Linked DNA regions of Homo sapiens: region 1 is linked to region 2. The links are contacts of gene promoters, found by promoter capture Hi-C in human tissues and cell types (Jung and others, 2019). All regions are on one chromosome and are shown on one strand. The core of a region is centred on a gene start or on the middle of the fragment in contact, and the rest is flanking DNA. Distances in the headings are between cores, read along the strand shown. Region 1 has its middle 29 kb from the start of LY6L. Region 2 holds the start of LY6H (lymphocyte antigen 6 family member H).

The links. The method cuts DNA at HindIII sites, captures the fragments that hold promoters and counts their contacts. A contact is called where the count stands out against the background at its distance.
Region 1: a fragment that was not itself captured here is called in contact with the fragment with the promoter of LY6H in region 2 in 1 of the 25 tissues and cell types used here (dorsolateral prefrontal cortex).

What each region holds. Positions count from the first base shown.
Region 1 is chr8:143,106,166-143,112,797 of GRCh38, reverse strand. No RefSeq gene overlaps it. Among named protein-coding and RNA genes, the nearest start is that of LY6L, 29 kb to the right of the region's middle. The HindIII fragment of the contact is 5,687 bases long and covers 1-5,481 here.
Region 2 is chr8:143,159,038-143,166,020 of GRCh38, reverse strand. It overlaps LY6H (lymphocyte antigen 6 family member H), which reads left to right and starts at 5,700. Exons shown (of 4, transcript NM_001135655.2): 1 at 5,700-5,823; 2 at 6,312-6,439. The coding sequence starts at 5,822. LOC124902035 (a long non-coding RNA gene) reads right to left here and starts at 6,152. Exons shown (of 2, transcript XR_007061136.1): 1 at 6,035-6,152; 2 at 3,100-5,224. The HindIII fragment of the contact is 31,387 bases long and covers 1-6,983 here.

The DNA.
Region 1 (6,632 bases), core at 1,389-3,888, 50 kb after region 2:
CTTCGTTTTGTAGATTCGCTTCCTGAGGAACTTCTACCAAAATAAATTATGAGAATGACTAATTTGGGAACAGTGTTTTTGGTTTTAAATGTGTAACTGAGCAGCTTGGCTTCAAACCATGTTTTAAAACTTTGTTTTTTCTCCTTTCTTCCCAATCTCAAGATATAACTTTGAGTCAAGCTGCATACGGGTTTCCTTTCATCTTGAAACATAGCCTGGGAATGTGCTGTGGCCTCCCCTCCCCTTCTTTTTCTATTCCATGCTGTCACACCTTACACACACTTATTTACCTGGATGCTTGTTAAGCTCACACCATGCTCACTTCTCTGGTGATGTATTTCCTTAGAAGTTTCAGGGGCCGGATCCTGCTATGGACCAGACACTTCCAGCCACGATGGCCCTGGCCCCTTCACCAGATGGAACAATAATTCGAGATGAGCCATGGGACTGGTTCCTGCCACCCGACACCTCCTCATCACCTGCCTCTTCTGCATTCCAAACCCTCTCTTTAAAATCCCCTGCGTTCCCTCCACAAATGGAAGAGTGGAATTGCTTTGTGCTCATCCCTTTGCTGGTACGGATAATAAAGTCTCACTCTCTTTCTATCACACCTCATTATTATTTTGGCTTCTTTCTACAAGTGGTGAGCAGCCTCACCCTTCTGCTGGTCACAAGTGCAGCAGAATGGAAGAGCACGTGTGGGCTGATGTGAGACCCACAGCTCACTGCTGAACAATGGCAGATGAGTGTGTGTGATCCAGACGCACAGATTATTCCTGAGGGAACGGCCAGCCTGGTGGGCTGGATAAAAGGCACTGTAAGAGAAGGGGACCACCCAACTTTCCCCATAAACGCCAAGTGGAGCACCCCCGATGAAGCAGCTGATGTGCTTCGTAAGCAAGCCATGTGGGACTGACTTTATGATGACCGGGATATTCACGGCTGAGTATGCCCAGATCATGGTAAATGCTGTGGTTAAGGGGGCCCATTGGCCTGGGCACCTCATTGGGTCTCAACTTCCCCTCATGGGTCATCCAGATGCTTATAAAAACTTTAGGCTAATTAATAAAATTATTGGGAAAGGCAAAAGGGAGTCCAAGGACTCATCCTAGGAAGGGGAAAATTTTTAAACGATTAGTTTTAAATAGGTAAAAAATGGGCCAGGCCTGGTGGCTCACGCCTGTAATCTCAGCACTTTGAGGGGCAGAGGTGGGCAGACCACCTGAGATCAGGAGTTCGAGACTGGCCTGGCCAACATGGCGAAACCTCATCTCTACTAAAAATACAAAAATTAGCCAGGTGTGGTGGCGCGCACCTGTAATCCCAGCTACTCAGGAGACTGAGGGAGGAGAATTGCAGTGAGTCAAGACTGCCACTGCACTCCAGCCTGGGTGGCAGAGTAAGACTCCATCTCAAAAAAAAGGTAAAAAGTGGATGGGGTGAAACCAAGAGGAAAAAGGAAAGGAGAGAGTCATGGGGTGCATCCTAGCGGGGTGGAATCTGTACATGGTTGTTAAGCAATGGAATGAATAATGGGGGGTTATTCACAAAGGTCTTAATACAACACTATCGAAAGTTGGGTGAACAAAGGGAGCCCCCGCTGGTCCCTCAACAGTAAAGAGCTCCAAAACAGTTTTTGCCAGATTGGAGAAGGCACTCTAACTATAAAAATTGGAAGGCAAAAGTTACACTGAGCAAACTGACCAACAATTGCGGGGGCCAATGTTGAGGTGGGTTAATCAAGATAAGATTGACAGAAGGGCCAGGGTCCCTTGGATCAAGCCCCTGTGGGGCACCCACATCCTTTTTCACAAGAGAGGGTAAAATGGTCTGGAGGTGGGAAAAAGAAGTTCCTGGGAGCAGAACAGAAAGACGTCGAGTTATGAAAGTCGACTTGTGTGATAGAGTTATGAAAGCCGAGATGTTTAAACAGGCTTTATGTAAGGCATTACATATCCTTTACCTAAATGCTTTATGAAAATGGATATTGAAGCTGGTACAGTGGTTCACACCTGTAATCCTAGCACTTTGGGAGGCCGAGGTGGGCGGATCACTTGGGGTTAGGAGTTCAAGACCACCCTGACCAACATGATGAAACCCCATCTATACTAAAAATACAAAAATTAGCCGGGCATGGTGGCATGCACCTGTAGTCCCAGCTATTGGGGAGGCTGAGGCAGGAGAATTGCTTGAACCCAAGAGGCAGAGGCTGCAGTGAGCCGAGATTGTGCCATTGCACTCCAGCCTGGGCAATAGAGACTCAGGAAAAAAAAAAAAAAGGAAAATGGAAAATGGATATTGTACGTGGACTGGGGAAACCCCTACCTACTACTGCAAAAGTAAAGGCATGAAAAAATCAACGAAAAGAGTCAAACTGTAAAATATTGGAAGAGATTTATTCTGAGCCAAATATGAGAGACTGTGGCCCATGACACGGCCTCAGGAGACCGTGAGAACAAGTGCCCAAGGTGTTTGGGCCACAACTTGGTTTTATAAATTTTAGGGAGCCATGAGACACCAATCAATACAGGGAAGACATACATTTGTTCGATCAGGAAAGGTGGGACAACTTGAAACAGGGACTTCCAGGTCATAGGTAGATTCAAAGATTTACTGATTGGCAATTGGTTGAAGGAGTTACTATCTAAAGACCTGGAATCAAAAGAAGGAATGTCTGGGTTAATGAGGGATTGTGGTGACCAAGTTCCTATTACACAGAGAAAGCCTCCAGGTAGCTTCAGAGAGAACAGATTGTAAATGTTTCTTACCAGAGTTGATTCTCTCTTGAATCAGGGAAAAGTCCTGAAAAAGGAAAAGGATTCTCTTCAGAATGCAGCTTTTCCCCACAAGAGAAAGCTTTGCAAGGCTATTTCAAGACATGGCAAAGAAACACAATTTGCGGTAAAATACTTCAATTTCATTCAGTGAATCCTTCGCTTGGCTTCCTACCCTTGAGGCTTTTAATAAGTTGAGTCCAAAATTCCCTAAAAAAGTTCCAGCAAAGCCAACTTAAAAAGAGCCGACCAGCTTAGGCAACATGCTGAGACCCTGTCTCTACAAAACATAAAAAATGAGCTGGGTGTGGTGGGGTGTGCCAAGGGTCCCAGCTACTCGGGAGGCTGAGGCAGGAGGAGTGTTTGAGCCTGAGAGGCTGAGGCTGCAGTGAGCTCTGATTGCACCATTGTACTCCAGCATGGCTGACAGAGCAAGCCCCTGTCACAGGGAAAAAAAAAAAAAAAAAAAGCCTCTAGGGCTGGTAACTATTCTTGCCACGCTTCATGCAAATAGGCCAAGTATAATGAGACCGAAATTTATTTTGCAAATAAACTGGTCCTACTATGATTTATCCTTGGTAGAAATGGGGAAACTAGAGAGAGAAAAATTTAGATCCTAGCTCTGACCGTTGTTTTTGAGTTATTATTTGCTTACAATTTGGGCTAATCCTGAATCATTCACTGGCTACAAGTCTCTAAAGAAAAACCGGGTTTTAGTTTCCTTCACGATGCTTTTAGTCGGCTTCTTAATGAAATAGGTTCTTTTTTGTTACTGTTCTGAAATACAAATTCCCTTTTGATTGTCATCCTTGTGTGCAAATTATTAATGTTATGTATCTCTTGTTGTTTTATTTTCTCTGAGAAAACAGAAGTCGTGGTATCCTGAAGACTAGAGATGATTCAACAGCCGGTGACCCTCCCTCACTGGGACTCTCACCGGGCCCGACCTGTTTTCCGACGCCAAGGCACCGCTGCTGAAGCCAGACAACCCCAAGCACCCTCCCTAAGGCTCAGGGACCATCGCGGAAGAGGAGGGCAGGTGAGACGGTCAGAGCTGGATTAGTGGGGCGGCGCGGGCGGATCATGGAGGCCGAAGCCGCTCCATCTTGGACGCTAGTTTGTCGTGTTGGCTTCTGATTAACCTCAGTTCCGGGAATGCCTCTGAGAGTTCCCGTTCATCTGTTGTTCCTTGTGTAAGAGCACATCCTTATCACAAGTCCTGGCCTTAGGGAAATTCCTGCCCACCCCCTCTGAGGCATGTCCCCTGCACTATGGCAATAGAAGCCCTGGGCCTGGGTGGTGACGGCGCAGGGAGCCGCCATCTTGACTCACCGTAGCCTGAGACTGACATGGCTTCTGTTTCTAAGTCCCTATTAAATGTTTCTTTTTAAGAACTGAATTTGTGGGCCAGGCGCGGTGGCTCACGCCTGTAATCTCAGCACTTTGGGAGACCGAGGTGGGCATTTCACGAGGTCAGGAGATCGAGACCATCCTGGCTAACCCGGTGAAACCCCGTCTCTACTAAAAATACAAAAAATTAGCCGGGCGTGGTGGCGGGCGCCTGTAGTTCCAGCTACTCGGGAGGCTGAGGCAGGAGAATGGCGTGAACCCGGGAAGCGGAGCTTGCAGTGAGCCGAGATGGCGCCACTGCACTCCAGCCTGGGCGACAGAGCAAGACTCTGCCTCAAAAGAAAAAAAAAAAAAAAGATGTGAATTTGTCAGCCTCTTTCTTTGGCCTGTCAGCTTCCTTGGACTTTGAGGTAGATGTGTTTGGACTTGTTCACTGTGAGACAGTGGCTGAATAGTGTTCTTCTGTATACACTTAAACATTCTGTTTATCCGTCATTTGTTGAGGGATATTTGGGTTGCTTCTACCATTTGGTACTTGTGAATATTGCTGCATATATTAGGCTGTTCTTTTGTTGCTGTAAAGAAATACCTGAGACTGGTATTTGTGTTTGTCTCGCAGTTCTGCAGGCTGGACAGTAAGCATGGCACTGGCATTGGCTTGCGGAGGCTTCTCAGGAGGCCTCGGAGAGCTTTTATTGATGGTGGAAGTGAGAGATGGCGCGTCCCATGATGGGAGCAGGAGGAACATAGTGGGGGGAGACGCCGCACACTTTTAAACAGCCACATCTCCCGGGAGCTCACTGTGAGAAAGCACTCATTAGCAAGGGGTGGCAGCAAGGCATCCGTGAAGGGTCCACCCCCATGATCCAGTCACTTCCCACCCCCTCCAACACTGGGGATCATTTCCACATGATATTTAGAGGAAAAAACATCCAAACCATATCAGCTGCTATGAACATTCATGGACAAGTTTTTGTTTGAATGCCTGTTTTCAGTCCCGTTGGGTATATACCTAGGAGTGCCCTTGCTGTGTTGCACAGGACTTGCACGTTTACTTTTATAAGAAACTGTTTCCAGTGGCTGCGGCATTTTATATTCCCACCAGCAGGGTCTGAGAGTTCCAATCTCCTCATCTTCTCACCAGCACTTGTTATTTTCTGTAGTTTTGACGATGACCATCCTAGTGGGTGTGAAGAGGTATCTATCTCATTGTGGTTTTGGTTTTCATTTTCCTCATGACTAGGACTTACAGCATTTGATACATGACACGTGCAGATGCACCTGATACGTGACACGCGTGGATGGACCTGACACGTGCAGATGCACCTGATATGTGACACGTGCAGATAGATGCACCTGATACATGACACGTGTGGATGCATCTGATATGTGACACGCGTGGATGCACCTCGGAAGCCTGGCACCAAAGGCCGCATGCTGTATGGTTCCATTCATATGAAATGTCCAGAACAGACAAGTCCAAGAGACAGAAAGTGGTTGCTTAGGGGCTGGGGGAGGAAAAAATGGGGAGTGACTGCTTAGTGGGGCATGGGGTTTCCATCTGGAGTGATGAGAAGGTTCTGGAACAAGATGGTGGTCATGGTCACACATTATAAGTGTACTTAATGCCACTGAATTGTACACTTTAAAATGATAAAAATGGTAAATTTTTAAAAATAATTTTACTTTAAGTTCAGGGATACAAGTGCAGAATGTGCAGGTTTGCTACATAGGTACACACATGCCATGGTGGTTTGCTGTTGGTTACATAGGAACGCGTGTGCCATGGCGGTTTGCTGGTTTGTTACATAGGTACATGTGTGCCGGGTGGTTTGCTGGTTTGTTACGTAGGTATACATGTGCCATGGTGGTTTGCTGGTTGGTTACATAGGTATACGTGTGCCATGGTGGTTTGCTGGTTGGTTACATAGGTATACGTGTGCCGGGTGGTTTGCTGGTTTGTTACGTAGGTATACATGTGCCATGGTGGTTTGCTGGTTGGTTACATAGGTACATGTGTGCCGGGTGGTTTGCTGGTTTGTTACGTAGGTATACATATGCCATGGTGGTTTGCTGGTTGGTTACATAGGTATGCGTGTGCCATGGTGGTTTGCTGGTTGGTTACATAGGTACACGTGTGCCATGGTGGTTTGCTGGTTGGTTACATAGGTATATGTGTGCCATGGTGGTTTACTGGTTGGTTACATAGGTACATGCGTGCCATGGTAGTTTACTGGTTTGTTACATAGGTACACATGTGCCATGGTCGTTTGCTGGTTGGTTACATAGGTACATGCGTGCCATGGTGGTTTGCTGGTTGGTTACCTAGGTACATGCGTGCCGTGGTGGTTTGCTGGTTTGTTACATAGGTACGCGTGTGCCATGGTGGTTTGCTGGTTGGTTACATAGGTACGCGTGTGCCATGGTGGTTCGCTGGTTGGTTACTTAGGTACGTGTGTGCCATGGTGGTTCGCTGGTTGGTTACATAGGTACATGTGTGCCATGGTG
Region 2 (6,983 bases), core at 4,451-6,950:
CTGTAGGGCCCTCCTTGCATTGATCAGAGAACAGAACCAATGGGATGCACACGTGCAGAGAGGTTTTTGAAAATTGGCTTCCAGGATGAAGGAGGCTGGCAAGTCTAAAACCTGCAGGGCCAGCAGGCTGGAAACCCAGGAAGAGCTGACGTGCCGTTCGAGTCCAAGGACTCTGCCGCAGGGAGGCCAGTCTTTCATTCTATCCAGGCCTTCTGCCGAATGGATGAAGCCCGCCATGGCGGAAAGCAGCCTGCCTTCTCAAAGGTCCACTCATGTAATTTTTTTTTTTTTTTTTTTGTGAGATGGAGTCTCGCTCTGTCACCCAGGCTGGAGGGCAGTGGTGCAATCTCGGCTCACTGTAACCTCCACCTCCCGGGTTCAAGCAATTCTCCTGCCTCAGCCTCCTGAGTAGCTGGGATTACAGGTGCACATCACCATGCCTGCCTAATTTTTTTTTTTTTTTTTTTGAGACAGAGGCTGGAGTGCAGCGGCGCGATCTCCGCTCACTGCAAGCTCTGCCTCCCGGGTTCATGCCATTCTCCTACCTCAGCCTCCCAAGTAGCTGGGACTACAAGCGCCCACGACAATGCCCGGCTATTTTTTTTTGTATTTTTAGTAGAGACAGGGTTTCACTGTGTTAGCCAGGATGGTCTCGATATCCTGACCTCGTGATCCGCTCACCTTAGCCTCCCAAAGTGCTGGGATTACAGGCATGAGCCACCGTGCATGCCCCGCTAATTTTTGTATTTTTAGTAGAGATGGGGTTTTGCCATGTTGGCCAGGCTGGTCTCAAACTCCTGACCTCAAGTGATCTCCCCCGCCTTGGCGTCTCAAAGTGCTGGGATTACAGGTGTGAGCCACCGCGCCTGGCCAGGTACTTTTTTTTTGAGACAGGGTCTTGCTCTGTTTCTCAGGCTGGAGTGCAGTGGTGCGATCACAGCTCACTGCATCCTCAACCTCCTAGGCTCAAGCAGTCTTCCCACCTCAGCCTCCTGAGTAGCTGAGACTACAGGTGTGCACCACCACACCCAGCTAATTTTAAAATTTTTAGTAGAGATGGAGTCTCCCTATGTTTCCCAGGCTGGTCTCAAACTCCTGGTCTCAAGTGATCCTTTCACCTAGGCCTCCCAAAGTGCTGGGATTGCAGGTGTGAGCCACCATACCTGGCCCTAACCTTCTCTCTGTGACAAATTTTCTCCTTGAAGTGCAGTCTTTAGGGAAGGACTGTTAGTGGTAAGCTCTCTCAATGTCTCTGATTTTTATTCATCTGAAAAAAATTATCTAAAGTTAAAAAAAGTTTGACACATAATAATTATACATATTTATGGGGTACAACGTGATGTTTTGATATATGTATACATTATATAATGATTAAATTAAGCTAATTAACATATTCATCACCTCGCACACGTATCATTTTTTTTTGTGGCCAGTGTTTGTTTAGCTGCTAGAGAAAAAGAAAAATCCTTATGGTTAGAACATAGTTTATTCTTTAAGTTTAGGGGTGTGTGACTTAATCCTTGCCTGCCACAGCCTTAGGTCTTATTTATAATTTGGAATATCATTGCCACAAAGAGTGCATCCCATCAGTTTCATAATCTTTATTTTAACACTTTATAGATCTACATCTATCTAATATTTTTATTTTTAAATTATTTATTTATTTATTTATTTTTGAGACAGTCTCACTCTGTCGCCCAGGCTGAAGTGCAGTGGCGTGATCTTGGCTCACTGCAACCTCTGCCTCCCGGGTTCAAGTGATTCTTCTACCTTAGCCTCCCTAGTAGCTGGGATTACAGGTGCACGTGCCACCACACCTGGCTAATTTTTGTATTTTTTGTAGAGACAGGGTTTCGCCATGTTGGCCAGGCTGTTCTTGAACTCCTGACCTCAGGTGATCCCCCCGCCTCAGCCCCACAAAGTACTGGGATTACAGGTGTGAGCCACCGAGCCTGGCTTATATCTATCTAATCTATCTCTCTTTCTCTCTGTCACTTTTTCTTTTTTCCATTCATCTGCTGATGGACACAAGTGGATTCCATGTCTTGGCTGTTAGGAATAATGCTGCAATGGATATGGGCATGCAGGCCTCTCTTCAAGATACTGATTTCTATTTATCTGGCTATATACCCAGAACTGGAAGTGCTGGGTGGCAAGGTAGCTCCATGTTCAATTGTTTCAGGAACTTCCATACTGCTTTTCCTAATGGCTGCACTAATTTACATTCCCACCAACAGTGCACAACGGTTCTCTTCTCCACATCCTCACCAAAAATTGTTATCTCTGTCTTTTTGATGGCAGGCATTCTAATAGGCAGGAGGTGATCTCTCCTTGTGATTTTAATTTGCATTTCCCTGATGATTATAATGCTGAACATTTTTCCATACACCTGATGGCATTGTATGCCCTCTTTTGAGAAAGGTTTATTCTGCTTCTGGCTCATTTTTTAATTGGCCTATTTGTTTTCCTGCTATTGAGTTGTTTTCTAAACTTTTAATTTTCTGAAAATTCTATTTTACACTTATTTTTGGAAAATATATCAAGTTCTTAGTGACAGTTATTTCCCTCTGAGCCCTTTACAGATCCGATTTTCCTCTCCTTTGGCTGTCACTGGGGCTCCTGGAATTCTGCTGGCAATCTTATTGCTGTTTCCTGGGAGCTGATCTTCCTTTTCTTTTTGGCTGGCTTAAAGGTCTTCTGCAATTTCACTCTGTCATCTAAACTTTATTTTTCTTTATTCTATTTAGTCCATGTTGTGCCTCTCTGTGCATACTTATTTTTTATCAGTTCTGAAATATTCTCAGGCATAACTTCTTCAATGATTGACTCTCTTTCCTTTGAGATTTCAACCAGACTTCCATAAGCTCTCTGCACACCATCTTTTTGTTTTATTTTATTTTAGTTTTTTCTTTTCTTCTTTTCTTGCTCAGACTTAAGTGGGCATCAGGAAAACACCATCTTTTATGTTTCTTATTTTCCCTATTTTCTATTTCCTTATCCTTTGTGCTACATTCTTGGTAATTTTTTAAAGATTTATCTTCTAGTTTATGAATTCCCTCTTCAGTTGTGTTTAATTTGCTGCGTAATCTGTTTGCTGAGTATTTTTTTAAACACCTTTATTGAGATATCATTCACATACCATAGCATTTACCCTTTTAAATATACAAGCCAGGGGTCTGTAGTATATTCATAGAGTTGTGTGACCATAATCACTATTTTTAGAACATTTTCATCACTCCTAAATGAGTGCTTTTATCACTTTATTTATTAGTAGTGCCTATTACCAGTCCCTAAGGAGGACTGATTCCCCTATCCCACCCTTCTAGCACAAGGCAACCACTAAGCTACCTTCTGTCTCTCTTGGATTGTTTATTCCGGACATTTCATAAAAAGAAAACCACACAATGTGTTTTCTTGTGACTGGCTTCTTTCAGTTACCGTAATTCTTTCAAGGTTTCTGCTGACCTTTTCATTTCAATGAAAAGTTTTTCATTTCTAGAGGTTCTATTTTTTTCTGATAAGCATGGTGATTGGTTTCATAGTGCTTTGTTCCTTATTTTAATATATCTTAAGCATAACAAATAGGTTAATTTTATATCCTATATTTGATATTTTCCATTTAGAAAGTTTGTGGTGATTTAAATCTGTTGCTCGTCACTGTCAGCTGAGTCTCACTTGGAGGCTTGCTTTCTTTAGACATGTGCTGATTTTTCATTTTGAACTCATATTTGATTCAGTTAAATCTGTGGGAACCTCAGTCCCTAAGTTGGGGCTTGCTTTCTCCAGAGTATTCATCGTTGGTTTTGCTTTTGCAAGCAGGGATGCTACTGACCTGGGACCACCCTGGCTCCCCGGAGGGCTCTGTGTGGGTGCCAAGTGGAGGGTGCAGGAGAAAGCATCCCTCGGGGCAGCCCTCAATCAATGACTCTTGGGTGTCGCTGTGAAATACCTGTTCCCTCATCCCTTGGGTGAGTTCACCTGAGGCTCACAGTTTACACCACTTCCCAGAGTACCTCTCTGGGGTCAGGCTCCATTTCCCCACTGCGGGGGGTTGCTGAGTACCACATGCTTGCCAGCCTCCTTCCCCACCCTGGACCACTTCCCCACTCCCCAGGGCTGCTATCCCCACCTCCAACCAAAGGGCTTGCTCTGGAATCCCTGCCTCAGGCTCTGCTTCCGGGACCTCAGACCCCGTGGGGGTCCAGGTCTGCCCAGGACCACTGTGAGTTTCACATCTGCCTCCTGCTCAGTGGGCAGACTTTGGGAGTCCATTATTCTATTTACTTCTTTCTTTATGGACTCAGATTTCTTTTACTTTCTTGCGAGCTCTGTATGTTTTGAAAAGAATTGTGTTTGAACCTTGATCTAGCTCTTGCCCTCTGCACCTTATGAATCTCAACTCCTCATTCAGTTCTCGGCTAAAGTATCAGGTCCTGGGAGAAGCTCTCCCTGACCCTGAGGCAAAGCACGCTCCTGTGGTGGTCTCTTGTCCATCTCGTCCTTGCCTCCACCCCTCTGGAGCCACAATGGAGCGGAGGTGTGCAGTCCCTGTAGCCCAAGCTGCTTGGGTTCCCACTTCAGCTGGGTCACCTGTCACCTGCGTCACTGTGTGACCCCGAGCAGGGAGCGCCGCCTTTCCGTGTGAGTCTCCTCATCTGTGAGATGGAAATGATACTATCTGCACAGCAGGGCTGTGGTGAGACTATAAGGAGATAATAAATATGAAGTGTCTAGAACAGGTGGAATCCATAGTACATGCTCAATAAATGTTAGCTCTGTCACATCCTGCAAAGATATGCTGCAGTAGGCATCACCATTTGTCCAAGGGGAGAGTCAGGAGGGCAGAAACCAGGTCTCTCTCCTCATGCCCTTTCCCAGGGCTCAGGGCAGGGCTAGGGCAGCAGGGAGCATGCAGTAAACATTTTCAGGTCAAATGAAAGGGAGCAGGACCAAAGGCACGATGGCAGATCGGGGCTTCCCCAGTGCCCCGGGGAGGCGGATTTCAGGCACAGGGACACGTGCAAAGGCACAGCTTTTAGGGAGCTGGAGGGCAGGGCGGGAAGGCCAAGGAAGCCGAGAAACGGGTCCAAGGCTCGGATGCTCTGGCCAGGATTTGTACCTTTACCTCCGAGTGTGGGAGTATTTGGCGACAGAAGCCCCTGGGGCTGCGGCTTCTGGTGGGGGTCTTCATGGATGCTCAGGGGAGGAGAACGGCCTGGAGCCACTGGAAACGGGGAAACGGGGAAACGGGTATGAGGTTGGGGAGGGGCGGGGAGGAGGGGGAGGGCGGGGCCCCAGGGCGGGAGTCTGACCCCAGGGGTCTGCGAACCCGGACCTGCGCGTGGCGCCGCGCCGGGTACCTCCCCCTCTCTGCGTCTTTGTGCATTTTGCTTCCTTTCGCAGTAAACGTTCTTCCGAGAAATTCCAAGGGGATCTCAGCCAAGCAGAGGGGGAAGGGATCCTGCCCACGCCTGGGTAGGGGGCCGCGGAGGCTGGGGAGGAGCAGGGGGCGCCGCGAGGGAGGGAGCGGGAACCCGAGGGAGCGCGCGCGCCAGCAAGGGGGCGCGGAGGGCCCGGGCCAGCTACCTGCGTGGGGGCCGCGAGCCCCGGGCGCCCCCCGCCCCGCGCGTCTCCCAGCCGCCCCCGCCCCCCGCGCGGCCCCCGCCCCGGCTCCGCCCCGCCCCTCGCGCGGGGTCCGCGTCTGCGGCTGCGTTCCCCGAAAGACGAGGCTGCGCCCGGATTCCGGTCCGCAGGGAGACCGAAGGGCACAGCTCCCCGCGCCGCGCACGCCGCCCGAGCCCGGAGTGCGGACACCCCCGGGATGTGAGTGAGCCCCCCGACCCCGAGGCCCGCGCTCCACGCCCCATCCGCGGTGAGCGCCGAGGCGCGCGCGGAAGGCCAAGGGAGGGGACTCGGCCCGGGGTTCCCGGCCCCCCAGCCCAGGGGTGGGGGTGGGGACCTGGCACGCGCCCCTCCCCCCAGTGGCAGGTCCCACCCGCTCCCGCCCCTGCCGCTCATTCCTGTCCGGACGCACCTGCAGCTCCCCGGGGAGAAGAGGACGCCCCCCATCCGCTCCCCCACACAGGTGCCGGCGCGGGGCGGAGGCGTCTCGAGCTGTCACCTCGCCCCAGAGGCCAGACGTCTCCCGGCGGGGATGCTGTGACGGCGGACGCTCTGGAGAAGGGGCTGGGGGTGGGGCTCTGCGAGCTCCGGGCGGACCCCGGCCTTGGATTCCGGGGAGAAGGTTGCATCCTGAGGCTGGGAAAGGAGAGGGTCTTTGGGGTCTCCTGACCGATGCTTCTCCCCTCCAGGCTTGCGCCCCAGAGGACCCGCGCCCCAAGCCCCCGCGCCGCCCCCAGGCCCACCCGGAGCATGCTGCCTGCAGCCATGAAGGGCCTCGGCCTGGCGCTGCTGGCCGTCCTGCTGTGCTCGGCGCCCGGTGAGTAGGGGGCCCGCGGGCTGGGTCAGGTGCCTGGGAGAGCCCGAGGCGCCGCGGGAGAGCCGGGTGTGGGGCTGCCACCCTCTGACGGTTCCCACCGCACTTCGCATAGAGCCCACGCCCCCTCCGGGACCCCTGCGACCCCAGCCCGGCCCTCGGCCCCTCTGCCCCGGCACTGGGCTCTCTCCAGCGCTCTTCCTCCAGGGCCTGGAACTGGTGGGCGGCTGGCCCCGCACGGAAGCCCTTGGTCATCCGTCACCTCTGAGAGCCTCCCGGGCCTCCTTTCAAATCCAGTTTGGTCCTTCACAGCTTGGAACCCACGGACCTCTGGGGGGGATATGTGAGGCGGGGCGGGAGTGTGAGGGGGGCACTGTCGGTGTGGGGTCTGTATAGCCCGTGTGTGTGTTTGTGTGTGTGTGTGCACGCACGTGCATGGGGGCCAGGGAGGGGCCATAGGGGCTCCCCTCAAACTGCCAGGATGGGGCACAGTTGTCCCAGGGCCTCTGCTCCCCCTCCAGGGGTCATGGGGGCCTGCTCCCTCCCG